4 separate regions of the Homo sapiens genome follow, and all the other regions are linked to region 3. Evidence: promoter capture Hi-C in 16 types of primary human blood cells and fetal thymus (Javierre and others, 2016). All regions are on one chromosome and are shown on one strand. The core of a region is centred on a gene start or on the middle of the fragment in contact, and the rest is flanking DNA. Distances in the headings are between cores, read along the strand shown. Region 1 overlaps ZMYM3 (zinc finger MYM-type containing 3). Region 2 overlaps MED12 (mediator complex subunit 12). Region 3 holds the start of OGT (O-linked N-acetylglucosamine (GlcNAc) transferase). Region 4 holds the start of FOXO4 (forkhead box O4).

What was found. Contacts are between HindIII fragments. The CHiCAGO score rates a contact against its expected background, and 5 or more counts as called.
Region 1: a fragment that was not itself captured here is called in contact with the fragment with the promoter of OGT in region 3 in 3 of 17 cell types (fetal thymus, naive CD8 T cells and naive CD4 T cells); the score reaches 8.7 in fetal thymus.
Region 2: a contact is called between a fragment that was not itself captured here and the fragment with the promoter of OGT in region 3, in 2 of 17 cell types (non-activated CD4 T cells and total B cells). The highest score is 7.2, in non-activated CD4 T cells.
Region 4: the fragment with the promoter of FOXO4 here is called in contact with the fragment with the promoter of OGT in region 3 in 4 of 17 cell types (fetal thymus, non-activated CD4 T cells, activated CD4 T cells and 1 more); the score reaches 6.0 in fetal thymus.

The regions. Positions count from the first base shown.
Region 1 is chrX:71,249,947-71,253,365 of GRCh38, reverse strand. It overlaps ZMYM3 (zinc finger MYM-type containing 3), which reads left to right. Exons shown (of 25, transcript NM_201599.3): 2 at 92-777; 3 at 1,765-1,808; 4 at 2,122-2,188; 5 at 2,640-2,934; 6 at 3,163-3,340. The coding sequence starts at 111. Among named protein-coding and RNA genes, the nearest start is that of ZMYM3, 2.5 kb to the left of the region's middle. The HindIII fragment of the contact is 6,691 bases long and covers 1-3,419 here.
Region 2 is chrX:71,139,787-71,142,918 of GRCh38, reverse strand. It overlaps MED12 (mediator complex subunit 12), which reads right to left. Exons shown (of 45, transcript NM_005120.3): 42 at 2,062-2,284; 43 at 1,549-1,689; 44 at 955-1,036; 45 at 469-744. The coding sequence ends at 701. LOC124905197 (a long non-coding RNA gene) reads left to right here. Exons shown (of 4, transcript XR_007068262.1): 4 at 1-373. Among named protein-coding and RNA genes, the nearest start is that of NLGN3, 3.5 kb to the left of the region's middle. The HindIII fragment of the contact is 5,236 bases long and covers 1-3,132 here.
Region 3 is chrX:71,531,645-71,534,936 of GRCh38, reverse strand. It overlaps OGT (O-linked N-acetylglucosamine (GlcNAc) transferase), which reads right to left and starts at 1,833. Exons shown (of 22, transcript NM_181672.3): 1 at 1,601-1,833. The coding sequence starts at 1,637. RefSeq lists enhancers at 1,259-1,917, 1,743-2,082, 1,583-2,782. The HindIII fragment of the contact is 929 bases long and covers 1,480-2,408 here.
Region 4 is chrX:71,093,910-71,097,123 of GRCh38, reverse strand. FOXO4 (forkhead box O4) reads right to left here and starts at 1,273. Exons shown (of 3, transcript NM_005938.4): 1 at 143-1,273. The coding sequence starts at 595. The HindIII fragment of the contact is 17,633 bases long and covers 1-3,214 here.

The DNA.
Region 1 (3,419 bases), core at 598-3,097, 280 kb after region 3:
GTGGATGATGGGGTGTGTCTCAGAGCCTATATAAGAAGGAATTCAGGCTAAGACCACCTCTACTGCCCCCTCTTCTACTCCTAATCTGCAGTACATATCCAGCCATACTCATGGACCCCAGTGATTTCCCCAGTCCATTTGACCCATTGACCCTGCCAGAGAAGCCCCTGGCTGGAGACCTACCAGTAGACATGGAATTTGGAGAGGATCTACTGGAATCCCAGACTGCCCCAACTCGAGGATGGGCCCCCCCTGGCCCTTCTCCATCCTCGGGAGCCCTGGACCTGCTTGATACCCCTGCTGGCCTGGAAAAAGACCCTGGAGTCCTGGATGGAGCCACTGAGTTGCTGGGGCTGGGGGGGCTGCTCTATAAAGCCCCCTCTCCCCCGGAGGTGGACCACGGTCCTGAGGGAACCCTGGCATGGGATGCAGGAGATCAGACCCTAGAGCCTGGACCAGGGGGCCAGACCCCTGAGGTGGTACCACCTGATCCAGGGGCTGGGGCAAATTCCTGTTCACCTGAGGGGCTACTAGAGCCTTTGGCTCCAGATTCTCCAATAACACTGCAGTCCCCACATATTGAAGAGGAGGAGACCACCTCCATAGCTACTGCAAGAAGGGGCTCCCCTGGGCAGGAGGAGGAGCTTCCCCAAGGGCAGCCACAGAGCCCAAATGCCCCGCCTAGCCCTTCAGTGGGAGAGACTCTGGGGGATGGAATCAACAGTTCTCAGACCAAACCTGGGGGCTCTAGCCCCCCTGCACATCCTTCCTTGCCAGGTAGGTTGCCTAATTATCTGGAGAATCAGGGCTGGGAGAGGGTGGTGGTAAGGAGGGGTGGCTATGTGCTTTGGGAAGTAGTGGGGAGGAGGAGGGTGGAGAGATAAGTGTAGGGATGTGTGTGGGGAAGGACTTGGGGTTTACGAGGGAGGAGTGGGGTGGTGTGTAGAGGAAGATTAAGGAAAGTAGGGGTGGGCACAGGCTGTGGGGGAGGAATGGGGTAAGGTTTCAGGGAGCGTAGGTTGGGAGGAGTGAATTTGGTGGGAAGGGTTCCCTTTTTCCTACCCCAGTGGGCTTTTGGTGCCAGAGTCCTTCCTTCAGGATTTGGGGGAGTACACCAGGCTTCTTGGTTCTAAGACCTTTACAGCTTTTTGGTTCTAGATGGGAGTGGGATTTCTGGGTTTGATGAATGGTAACTAGGTTCTGGAGCCCCTAACAGCATAAGGATTTCAGCAGAGCGATAGAAATGCAGGGTCTAGGATTGCGTCTCTGATAGGGGAGGGACAACCTTGACTTGAGAGGCTCTAGTGTCTCCCCTCTTCTGCCTAGTGGTGTGCCTCTATCAGGCTGTGACGAGGGTCTTAGGGCTTATATAACCACCTGAATCCAGGGGAAGCTACCCATACACTGATGCTTCCTTTTCCTTTTGCTACCTTTGGGTGGTTGTGTGTGTTTTTCATTGGTAAAATATAAATTCTTAATGAAAGGTATATTACCTGTGTTTCCTTAACCCCCAAGGATTGGGACAGAAAGCTGGTGGGAAGGATAGATTTTTTTTTTTTCATGGAATAGCTGCACGTGCACCCCCCCACCCTTAGTACAGAGCCTGAGGTAACCCTGAGAGGGGCCCCAAGAAGCCACAGGCACTCGAGTTTTCCCTTTCAGTTTTGAGTAAGTTCTTCCCCAGGAATGGAGGCGGGGGTTGGGCCGGGGAGAGGGTGGTGAGGGCAGGCTCAACATTTAGGCTGCCTTCTGCTTCCTTTGCAGGAGATGGCCTGACTGCGAAGGCGAGTGAGAAGCCGCCTGAACGGGTGAGGGGGAGGGGATTGGAAGGAGTCTGGTTCCCCCTTAGCTCTGGGAAGGACAGACCCTTCATTTTCCCTCCCAGATGTTGTTCTGTAGAGAGTGTGTGTAAGGAGAGTTAGGAGGAGGGAGGGAGCACTAGTGTCTACTGCTTGTTGGGGAGAAAGTCCAACCTCCTTTTCTTCCCTCCTCCTAAGGGCTGGGCCAAGGGTCCCCACTCTCCCTTCCCCCTCCCATCTTCTATCCCCCCCCAAACCCTGTACTAGTGTTAGCCTGGCCAGGGTGTCAGTTTTCCTCCCCTCCCATCTTTCCGAGGTACAGAAGAGAAGCGAGCGCGTTAGGAGAGCAGAACCTCCAAAACCTGAGGTTGTAGATTCCACTGAGAGCAGTAAGTAGGATTTGAGGAAGTGTGACCTGGGAGTTCTGGGTGTGGAAAAGGTCCGAAAGTGGCATGCGGCAGGGCATGGATCTTCTAGCTCCTGCCGTCCTGCTCCATGAAGCGCATGAAGTGCCTGTCTCTGCTATGGGTTGGCATGGGAACCAGGGGCAGTGGGGGAAATTGAAAACAAGAGCAGTGAGAATGGCGAGTTTCCTGTTTCAGCTATGCCATCTCTGTCTCCGAATCTTCTCATTTAGAGCCTCTCCCTTTCCCTCCCTGGGAGGTTACAGAGTAACCAAGGGAGAGAGACACCAAGGTCTTAAGATACTGATGTAACAAGGGCCAGGGTGTAAAGGCCGGAACAACAGGGATCCCAGGAGAGGGACTGAACTGTTGGTCAGGGGATGGTTGGAGACCTGGTTTGGTGGCCTTTCTCATGTCCATCCCCCCACTTTCTCAGTTCCAGTGTCAGATGAGGATTCTGATGCCATGGTAGATGACCCCAATGATGAGGACTTTGTGCCATTCCGGCCCCGGCGCTCTCCTCGCATGTCCCTACGCTCAAGTGTGTCACAAAGGGCCGGGCGCTCTGCAGTGGGCACCAAGATGACTTGTGCACATTGCCGGACACCACTGCAGAAGGGGCAGACTGCCTATCAGCGCAAGGGGCTGCCTCAGCTCTTCTGCTCGTCATCCTGCCTCACCACTTTCTCCAAGAAGCCCTCGGGCAAAAAGACCTGTACCTTCTGCAAGAAGTGCGTGAGGGTCTTGGGGGCTATGCAGAGGGCAGGGATCTGGGCAGGAGTATGAGTAAGACAGAGACTGTTGGTAAGAACCTAGCAGGATGGAGCTGGGCGAGAGAGTGATGTAGGGAGAGAGTCAGAGTATTTGGCTCTGTGGTCATTGATCCTGGAGGAGGGGCGGAAGCTGAGGAAATGAGAGGGTGGTCTTGAGTGAATATTCAAACCTGTTCCCACCTCTAGGGAGATCTGGAACACCAAGGACTCGGTTGTGGCGCAGACTGGTTCTGGAGGCTCCTTCCATGAGTTCTGCACATCCGTCTGTCTCTCCCTGTATGAGGCCCAGCAGCAGCGCCCGATCCCCCAGTCTGGGGATCCCGCCGACGCTACTCGCTGCAGCATATGCCAGAAGACTGGAGAGGTGAGGACACTCAGTGGGGGCTGATTTACAGAGCCTGGCCAGCCCTGACCTGCCCCTCCCATCCTGGGGCTGCAGGGTC
Region 2 (3,132 bases), core at 96-2,595, 390 kb after region 3:
GAAGAGAGGGTAGCAATCCAATTAGAATTAAGAAATTTAGGCCGGGCGCGGTGGCTCACGCTTGTAGTCCCAGCACTTTGGGAGGCTGAGGCAGGTAGATCATGAGGTCAGGAGTTCGAGACAAGCCTGGCCAACATGGTGGAACCCTGTCTCTACCAAAAAAAACACAAAAATTAGCCGGGCGTGATGGCACATAACTGTAATCCCAGCTGCTCGGGAGGCTGAGGGAGGAGAATCGCTGGAACCCGGGAGGCAGAGGTTGCAGTGAGCCGAGATCGCGCCACTGCACTCCAGCCTGGGCGACAGAGCAAGACTCCGTCTCAAAAAAAAAGAAAAAAAGAAATTTTAGAGTGTAAGGTAAACAGGGGAGATGATCAGAATAGAATGAAGACTCTGACTTGTTGGTCCAACCCCCTGCATTCTCCCAAGAGACCACCCTTCCCAGACATGCAGAACTCGCACACTCCCTTTGCAAAGAAGCTCTGTGTATTGGGTGCAACAGCTCTGGGGTCTCTATATAAATAATATACAAAACCCAACAGCTCAATGCCTCACATTAACAAAAATACTAAAAACTTATTAAAAATGGAGCCTGAGGGGAGGGCCCCAACCACTACTGGTGCTAGCCCAGGAATGGGATTGGGAATTAAGAGGAAAGGGTGGGGCCACATCCAGTGCACAAGCAGTTCCTCCAGGTGGCTCAGTAGCGTCCAAATATGTTGGTACTGGGCTGTGGCTGGGTATCTGTGAAAAACCAGAGATTATCAGGGATGGAAGACCAGGCAGGGGTGTGGGTATGCACGAGGAAAGCTGTTCAGGTATCGAGGGAAGGGGATGGAATGGAATGCCTCCTCTCATAACCTGGGCCTGAAGCTATCGTTTCAGCTACTTTGGCCCACCCCGCCCCCTAAATTTATTCCATGGGGTTCTCCTTGGGAAGGCAGGCAGGCTTACTAGAGAGCTGTTGTTGAAGTTGCCGGACCAAAGCTGCTGTCTGTTGCTGCTGCTGGGTCTGCTGAAGCCCCTGGCGCTGGAACTGGGTGGAAATAGGAAGTGGAAGACTGAAGTCGAACTTTTCTCCTTCTTCAACCTCCTTTCCCAATCCGTTTTTTTTTTTGAGATGGAGTCTCGCTCTGTCCCCCAGGCTGGAGTGCAGTGGCATGATCTTGGCTCACTGCAACCTCTGCCTCCCAAGTTCAAGCAATTCTCTGCCTCAGCCTCTTGAGTAGCTGAGATAACAGGCACCTGCCACCATGCCCGGCTTATTTATTATTATTATTTTTTGTATTTTTAGTAGAGACGGGGTTTCACCATCTTGGCCAGGCTGGTCTTGAACTCCTGACCTCAAGTGATCCACCTGCCTTGGCCTCCCAAAGTGCTGGGATTACAGGCGTGAGCCACTGCGCCTGGCCTCCCAATCCATTTTTAGGGTGCCATGCCCTGCCTCCCACCTCTACCCTATTCCATACTGTCCCCAACCCAGTTCACTGGCTGCGTGCCCAACCTGGGCAGCTGTCCCTGAGCCTGGGGCTGTAGTCCAGCAGCTACCTGGGGCTGGGACTGGGGCTGGGGTTGGGGAGGAGCCGCCTGTTGCTGCTGTTGCTGCTGGTGTTGCTGTTGTTGCTGTTGCTGCTGCTGCTGTTGCTGTTGCTGCTGCTGCTGCTGCTGCTGTTGCTGTTGCTGCTGCTGCTATAAGAACACAAAAGATACTTCAGAAGGAGCAGAGGGAGGAAGCTAAGCCTCAGAACTAAAGGGCTGAGGGCAGGGGATGAGGAAGCAGGGTGGGAGCTCGGGGTCTACTGCCTTCCCTTTTTAGACAGCTGCACAGAAAGAAACCAAATCTAGGGTACCCAGCAGACAATGTCCAACTCTCTCCCACTATGATCCCCAGAAAACAAAAAGGGGGAGGGTAGAAAACTTCTCCAGCACCACTAGAGGCCAGCCGCTCTGCTAGGTGTTTTGGTACACTGCCTTGTTTAGTCTCGGTAACTGTGTGGGAAGAACTTGTGCCTCTCTTCCTCCCTGGGCTCCCAGGTCCCAGATGAAATCCCAGTGCCTTACCCGCAGGATCTGCTGCTGCTGCTGCTGCCGGATGTGGTACTGCTGCTGCTGCTGCTGCTGTTGCTGTTGCTGCTGCTGCTGCTGTTGCTGTTGCTGCTGTTGCTGCTGCTGCTGCTGCTCAGGTAGGATGGCTGTTGAACGGACGCCTGCCTGGACGCCCTGGGCACTCATTGGAGTCATGGTACTTATCATGGGTGTCTGCTGCAGTGTCTGGTGTGAAAACCTCCAAAGATAAGAGGGTCAGAGGTCAAGGCATGAGGGAGGTGAGGAGAGGGGGTCAGTATAAACCTTGGGTCCCTGACCTGAAAGAAACGTTAGCAGGTTATTTCATTCATTCCTCGTGTCACTAACCAGACTTCCAGTCTGGGGAATAAGTTGCATAAGATGATACTCTATTTTAGTGTCTCATAACCTTAATGGTTAGGAATTTTTCAATTCTGCATTAGCTATTTTTCTGTTACAAAAATGAAAAATAGGGCTGGGTGCGGTGGCTCACACCTGTAATCCCAGCACTTTGGGAGGCTAAGGTGGGTGGATCACTTGAGGTCAGGAGTTCTAGACCAGCCTGGCAACATGGTGAAACCCCATCTCTAGCAAAAATACAAAAAAAAATAGCTGAGCGTGGTAGTGGATGCCTGTAATCCCAGCTACTCAGGAGGCTGAGGCAGGAGAATTGCTTGAACCTGGGAGGTGGAAGTTGCAGTGAGCCAAGATTGCACCACTGCACTCCAGCCTGGATGACAGAGCGAGACTCCATCTCAAAAAAAAAAAAAAAAAGAAAGAAAAGAAAAGAAAAAAATAGTCTTAGCACAAGATAGGCATTCTATAAACACTCATTGAGGTTTTTTGCTGTTGCTGTTGTTGTTCCCAAATAACATTTCAAGTTGTTCTACCACATGTGTATATCACTTCAAGAGTCTACTGGCCAGGCTCCCCGTCTCAAGTCTTCTTTTTTTTTTGAGACAGAGTCTCACTCTGTTGCCCAGGCTGGAGTGCAATGATGCGATCTCGGCTCACTGCAACCTCCACCTCTCAGGTTCAAGTGATTCTCTTGCCTCAGCCCCCCAAGTA
Region 3 (3,292 bases), core at 584-3,083:
TTTCCTGACAGAATGCACAGCTGACCACCAACACAAAGAGCATTGAGACTTGCATCCACATCTGGGAGAGGTTATATCTTTAATAGAAACTAAAATTACATTTTAGCTAAGTCTCTAGAACTTCCTAGCTCCTTGTTTTCACACATTACTTTGTCACTTTTCAATGCCGCTTATCTGCTATTTTAACACTTGAAACGACAGCTTTCTCAAATAAATAACACATTAAAAAGGGCAAGCTAGTACAGAATCCAGTACAGAATCTTAAACCTTTGAAAATCACGGTGGAGACGTGGGGAGAGGAGCACGGACTAATTATTAATCCCACTCCCTACAATTACGGATAAGACACTATTGACGATTCACCTACTACTTACAGCACAACTTCCAGGAACAGTAGCTAAAACCCTCCACACATCTCAACTGAGAAACAACCAAAAAATAACCTCGCGGGAAACCTCAGAAGCGCAGCCCAATTCCCCACCCCCTTCCGCCCAAATCGCCTCAATATGGAAAGGCAGCTGAAGGACACTCCTACAATTTGGTTGTTTTCGTATTTTCAGTACCAAATGCTCGCGACTGAAGTGTCTAAAAGGGCAACCGCCTTGTACTTGTGCAGCTACACTCCAGTTGCTTTACAAACTCTTCAAGCAGGGATGGAAACTTAAAAGAATATTACACCCTGTGAATAAAGAGATACTGGGCTGAAGAATGGGGATGGCAGACCCAGAGGCGGCGGCGGAGGAATACATCGAGAAAGTAACACAAAGCGAGAATTGGGCGGGCAGGGTGGTCAACGCCAAAGCAGCAGCATCGGGGTGGTTTCTCCCCCAAGGATAGGAAGTGAACAGGGCTGGCAACCTCGCGAAGGGAAGGGTGTGGTTCCCCGCGGACAGGGTGGGAAATCCAGGCTGAGGGCAGCGGTGGAATTGGGCGATGGCAAAGGAAACCCCTGGAAATTTCCAATCTAAACCGGGACCGCTCAACCGAAAGAACACCAGAAAGGCACTGCCTAGCAGGGTGCTGCTCAATGTCCCCTCTTCTCGAGGTGACTTGTGGCACCATCGACGAGCTTTTGATCGTCCTCGGGTGATGCAAAGTGAGGATATGATTACATCGGAACGGCACCCCCGCCCTAGATTGGCAGAGAAGGACCAAATCTGGCTAAGGGGAAAAGACTGGGGGGGGAGATGAAGGAGGAGATGGAGGGGAAAAAGGAGAGGCGATGAGCTGGAATTAGGGGAGAAAACCGCTGCAAAGGAGTGAAAGGGCAGGGATTCCAATGCAGTCCATTCCACGACATTCTAAGCGCGCACGTGTGATAAAAGCGCCTGGAGAGAGTGGAATGCTAGAACATTTACGAAATAAAAACAAAGCAAGAAAGGCAGCAAAAAGCAAGCAAGGGAGGAGGAGGAAATGTTCGGGAAGCGGACAACAGCGGAAAACCCGATGTGATCAGATGCCAGTAGACCACGAAAAGCTTAGCAATGTCACTGATGTAATGGGGATGGTTCGAGGGAAGGGAGGGAAGGAGTGATACAAGGTAGAGGACGGCGCGAGACCCCAAGGGGGCATCTGCCAAGGTAGAACGGGACACCGGTACCTGTGCTGTCGGCCACGTTGCCCACGGAAGACGCCATCTGGAGCTTCTCGAGGGAGAGCAAAAAAGAGGTAATTGGTCCTGCTGCCGCCACTACCAGCAAGAACGTATTTGGAGGTAGTAGTACAAGGGCAGCAGCCGTAGCAATGCTCTGGAGGGCTTGAGCGGCGGCAGCAGTTACAGGCTTCAAACCCTGGGAACTCTAATTGACCATCTACCTAGTACGGTCTTGAAATGGCGGCGACGGCTCCTCGGCCGAAACAACATGGGCCGGAACTACTTTCTGTTACAATCAAGTGCCCGCGCGGAGGTAGCCGGTAACCAGCGCCGCCAACAAAATGACTTCAAGCTGCAAAGTCGAGATTCCATGTAGTCCTCCGCGCAGCGCCCATTGCGACAAACACCACGGTGGAGACCGCGCATGCGAGCAGCCCTGTCAACCCGACTCGTGGTTAGGGCACTCTCTGGGGCGGAAGCGGCCAAGTTTCTTAAGAGTGTAGCGGAAGGGTAAAAACAAACACACACGGGACGGATACGTTTTTGCCACCGCGATTAAGAAGAGTGTTTGTTACTTAGCAGGTGGTGTCGTTTTAAACATAAATGCCAAAGGCGTCTAAAAAAGTTTATCAACTGTATTCGTACAAAAACGGATGGTTACGACTCTCACGGATCAATTCTGAGCCAGTCAATTCAGAAGATTGCCTCTCAAAGACAGCTGCTCAAAACGAGGAGCGAGAGGGTTCCGATTTGAGCCCGTCTTCATTGTGACTCGGCCATCGATTTCAGCACTTCGATGAAAAAGACTGAAGCTTTCACAGGGCCAGTTGAATGCAGACACCTTCAATGTTGGCCGTATAGCCTGAAATTTCAAAATCGTTTTGGTATTCAGAATACTCCTGCCCACGGTGATAGGGCAAATGTTTAATAACTCAGGGACATGCTGGGCGTTTGCACTCCGAAGGCAGCCATAAAAATGTTAAAGGTGATTCACGTTCGTCAAAATCCATGACTCTCCTCGAGTTGTGACTTCATTTCCACCAGCTAGCTCTGCACATTGTCACAGTCGGCGATTCCACTGAGCTCAAAGCAGATCAACAATGATAAATGAATTCACTTGCCATCTGCCTAAACCACACGTCTAGATTGAGTCATGAATTGCCTCTACTTCCTTGAACAAATCGGTTCTTACGATCTTCCTGCAGTTTCAAGTCTACTGTTCAGACATTTTGTCACATTGGTATTTATACTTCACCTCTTGTTCTAGAAACGACTTAAGGTAGCTTGCCACATCAGCAAGAAAGTATTACAAGCCACTGGAGGCTACAAGTTGGATCTCTGAGAGCCTTTTTATTTCAAAAAGTCCTTGATCTAAGAAAGCAGGTCAATGAATTTCTTCAAAAAGTTTTTGCTACCTAGCCCCTTCACTACATTTTTTAAAACTAAGTCCTCAAATTCTGCTTAAATTTCTTCAAAACAGTCAACAAACAATTAATTATGGAAATGGCACAGAGAAAATTCATAATGCTAATTTCTTCCATCCCATAATCAAGAGTCACATCATGCAGTGAAAAAGACAAAAATCACTACACAAACTCTCCTGAAAATTGAGCACCAACCTCTTGTAATTTGATTTAACTGGTAAAACCTCCCCCCCGCACACACACACCTACTACAAGTTCCCTATCTGTAATGAGT
Region 4 (3,214 bases), core at 24-2,523, 440 kb after region 3:
GGAGATTGAAGGTGGATCTCTGGGCTTCCCAAAGGGGGTGGGGGTGGGAGGTAGTAAAAGGGGCCCCAGAGTAGAAGTAAGGGAGGCTAGGGGGTCCAGGGGGTAGATGGTGTTGGGAAGAAGGTAAGAGGGTCATAATTACCTTCCATCCTGCTGAGCTGTTGCTGTCACCCTTGTCCTTGAAGTAGGGTACAGTACGGACCATCCACTCGTAGATCTGGGCAAGTGTCAGTCGCTTCTCCGGGGCGCTTTCAATGGCCTGGCTGATGAGTTCTGCATATGACTGATTTCCCCAGGCATTCCGGCGGGAGCCTCCCTTCCGAGGACCTGTTACAGCCCCCAGGATTCCGGGCTGGGGGCCCCCGGCCGGCTCTGGGAGCCGAGAGGGCAACAGGATCGGCTCTGAGCGCCCCTCCGTGTGTACCTTTTCCCCCAGATCTGGCTCCACCTCGGGCGGCTCGGACGGCTGGTTAGCGATCTCTGGTCGGGGAAGGGGCCAGGTGCAGGAGCGGGGACGGCTCTGGGGTTCGAAGTCGGGATCTAGGTCTATGATCGCGGCAGCCTCTGTGGCTGAATTCTCATTCCCCGGATCCATACGTGGAGTTGGACCTCCCCGGCTCAGCGTTCAGTGAAGCCTGCCACAGTCCCTCACGATGCCTCCCCTCAGGGGGGAAGCATCGAGGGCCAGGAGGCACATTCCTGCCAGTCTTCAGAAAGTCGCGAACTTCCCCCTAGTCCCAGGACGCTAGTCCCTAAGCTGTCCCTTCACACAGTTCTCCGATCCCCTTCCCGACTACAGCCTGTAGCCTCAAAGCTCTTTCTGAGATGCCACCTGTAACCTCTGCCGAGCGAAGACACTTTTTCTGCAACCTCTCACTCAGCTTCCTGCTCTTTTAAACCTGAGGCACTGTATCCCCTCATATATTGCGCTCCCATCACCGAACGTCTCCTTAGCCGCAGTTCCCTCCCCCTTTTAAGTTGCTGCCCCCCGGACACTCCTCCCAAATTTCCTCCACCCGGATTGCTGCCCTCCCCCACGCCCCGCTCCCCCGCGTCACTTGCCCCTCCCCTGACTCCCCCTTCCCCCGCCTCTTCCCTTCTCGCCACTCTTACTAGGGTCCGGGTCCCCGCGGCTGCGGCCTCCCTTATTCCCGCACCGATTCCCCTATCAACCCCCCCCACCCCCCGCCCCCCGGGTTTCCCTTTTGTTTTGCTCCAAGCAGCAGCCCCCTCCTGACGTCTCTGTTTACCACTCGCCGGGGCAGCCATCTGCGCACGCGCCTCGAAAGCCAGTCGGGAAACCGAGTTCTGCAGTCGTGCCACCCTGGTCACTCTTGAGGACTACATCTCCCGTCCTGCTTCGCGGCCAGGAGCCCGATACGGCGGCAGGAGAGCGGCGTGGCAGGATATAACGAGGTGGAACTTTAATTATTAGAAGTCGTCGCGGACTCTTTCTTTTCTTAAGAATCGTTTTTCGCCCTTTCCCCCTTTCCATTGTCTCCCTTGTGATTCAGAGTCGTGTAGGTGACCAGATTGAGAGGTGCTAGCCCTTTCCCTCCTTCATTTAGGAGACGGCAAAAGGGAAAAAATTATTCTCTTAAAGATGCAGGAGACCAAGAAGCAAGAAGCAAGGAACTGACTAGAAAATAGGATGTATGCACGTTGGAGAGTTGGGTGGGGGGCTTGTGTAACATAAACAAATGGTTAGCCCACGGTGGTGTTCCTCCTCACCCCCTTCCTCCTCCCTCCACCCGCCTTCATCCCCCCATATGCAGTTCCCACTGACAGTGAGGTCTCACTTACCAATCAGTTTCCTCCACTGGCTCTTCTGGCTTTCCCTTCAACACCGATATTCTCCAGGTTCACATCTCCAACGGCTTCACTTCTCATTCAACAGGTCCAAACTCATTATCTGTTCCTGCACCCGCACCCCTATCCTCTGGCTACCCTTATCTCTGAATTTGACTTATGGTAGTCCTGATCTACCCAGTCTCCCAAGCTCCAAGCAGCAGCTTAGAGGTAATTACCCATTACTTCTTCATCTCCGTAACTTTCTACATCCAAATCCCAGTTCAAGACCTATTTATAACTGCATTTAAATTGTAGGATCAGCCGGGTGCAGTGGCTGACGCCTGTAATATCAGCACTTTGGGAGGTCGAGGCAGGCGGATCACTTGAGGTCAGGAGTTTGAGACCAGCCTGGCCAACATGGTGAAACCCATCTCTGCTAAAAATAGAAAAATTAGCCTGGTGTGGGGCACGCACCTGTAGTCCCAGCTACTTGGGAGGCTGAGGTGGGAGAGTCGCTTGAACCCAAGAGGTGGAGGTTGCAGTGAGCCAAGATCATGCCACTGTGCTCCAGCCTGGGTGACAGAATAACACCCTGTCAAAAAAAAAAAAAGGTGCAGTATCATCTTAATTGGATCTCCTTCCATCAGTCTTTACCTCACTACAGTTTATATTCAGAGCTGCCAGCAAGGTTACCGTTCTAAGAAACATGTCTGGTAATTATGGCTAAAATTTATGGAGCCCTTATTATGTGCCAGTCTCTGTGCAAATTGCTTTACGAACATTAGTTCATTTACTCCTCAATCATTTACTCCTCAATTCAACCCCATGAGGTAGGTACCACTATTATCCGCATTTTATAGATGAAGACACTAACAATGCTCAGAGATTGACTTGCCCAACGAGGCAGAACTGGGATTATATAACTTACATGCGATCGTATAATTTCTTTCTTTCTTTCCTTCCTTCTTTCTTTCTTTCCTTCCTTCCTTCCTTCTTTCTTTCTCCTTCCTTCTTTCTTTCTTTCTTTCTTTCTTTCTTTCTTTCTTTCTTTTTCTTTCTTTCTTTCTTTCTTTCTTTCTCCTTCCTTCCTTCCTTCCTTCCTTCCTTCCTTCCTTCCTTCCTTCCTTCCTTCTTTCCTTCTTTTTTGAGACAGGGTCTTGCTCTGTCACTCAGACTGGAATGCAGTGGTGTGATCTTGGCTCACTGCAGCCTTGACCTGCTGCACTCAAGCAATCCTCCCATCTCAGCCTCGGGAGTAGCTGGGACTACAGGCATGTGCCACCACGCCCAGCTAATTTTTGTATTTTCTGTAGAGACGGGGTTTCACCGTGTTGCTCAGGCTGGTCTGGAACTCCTGACTTCAAGTGATCCACCTGCCTTGGCCTCTGAAAGTGCTGGGATTACAGGCATGAGCCACCGCACC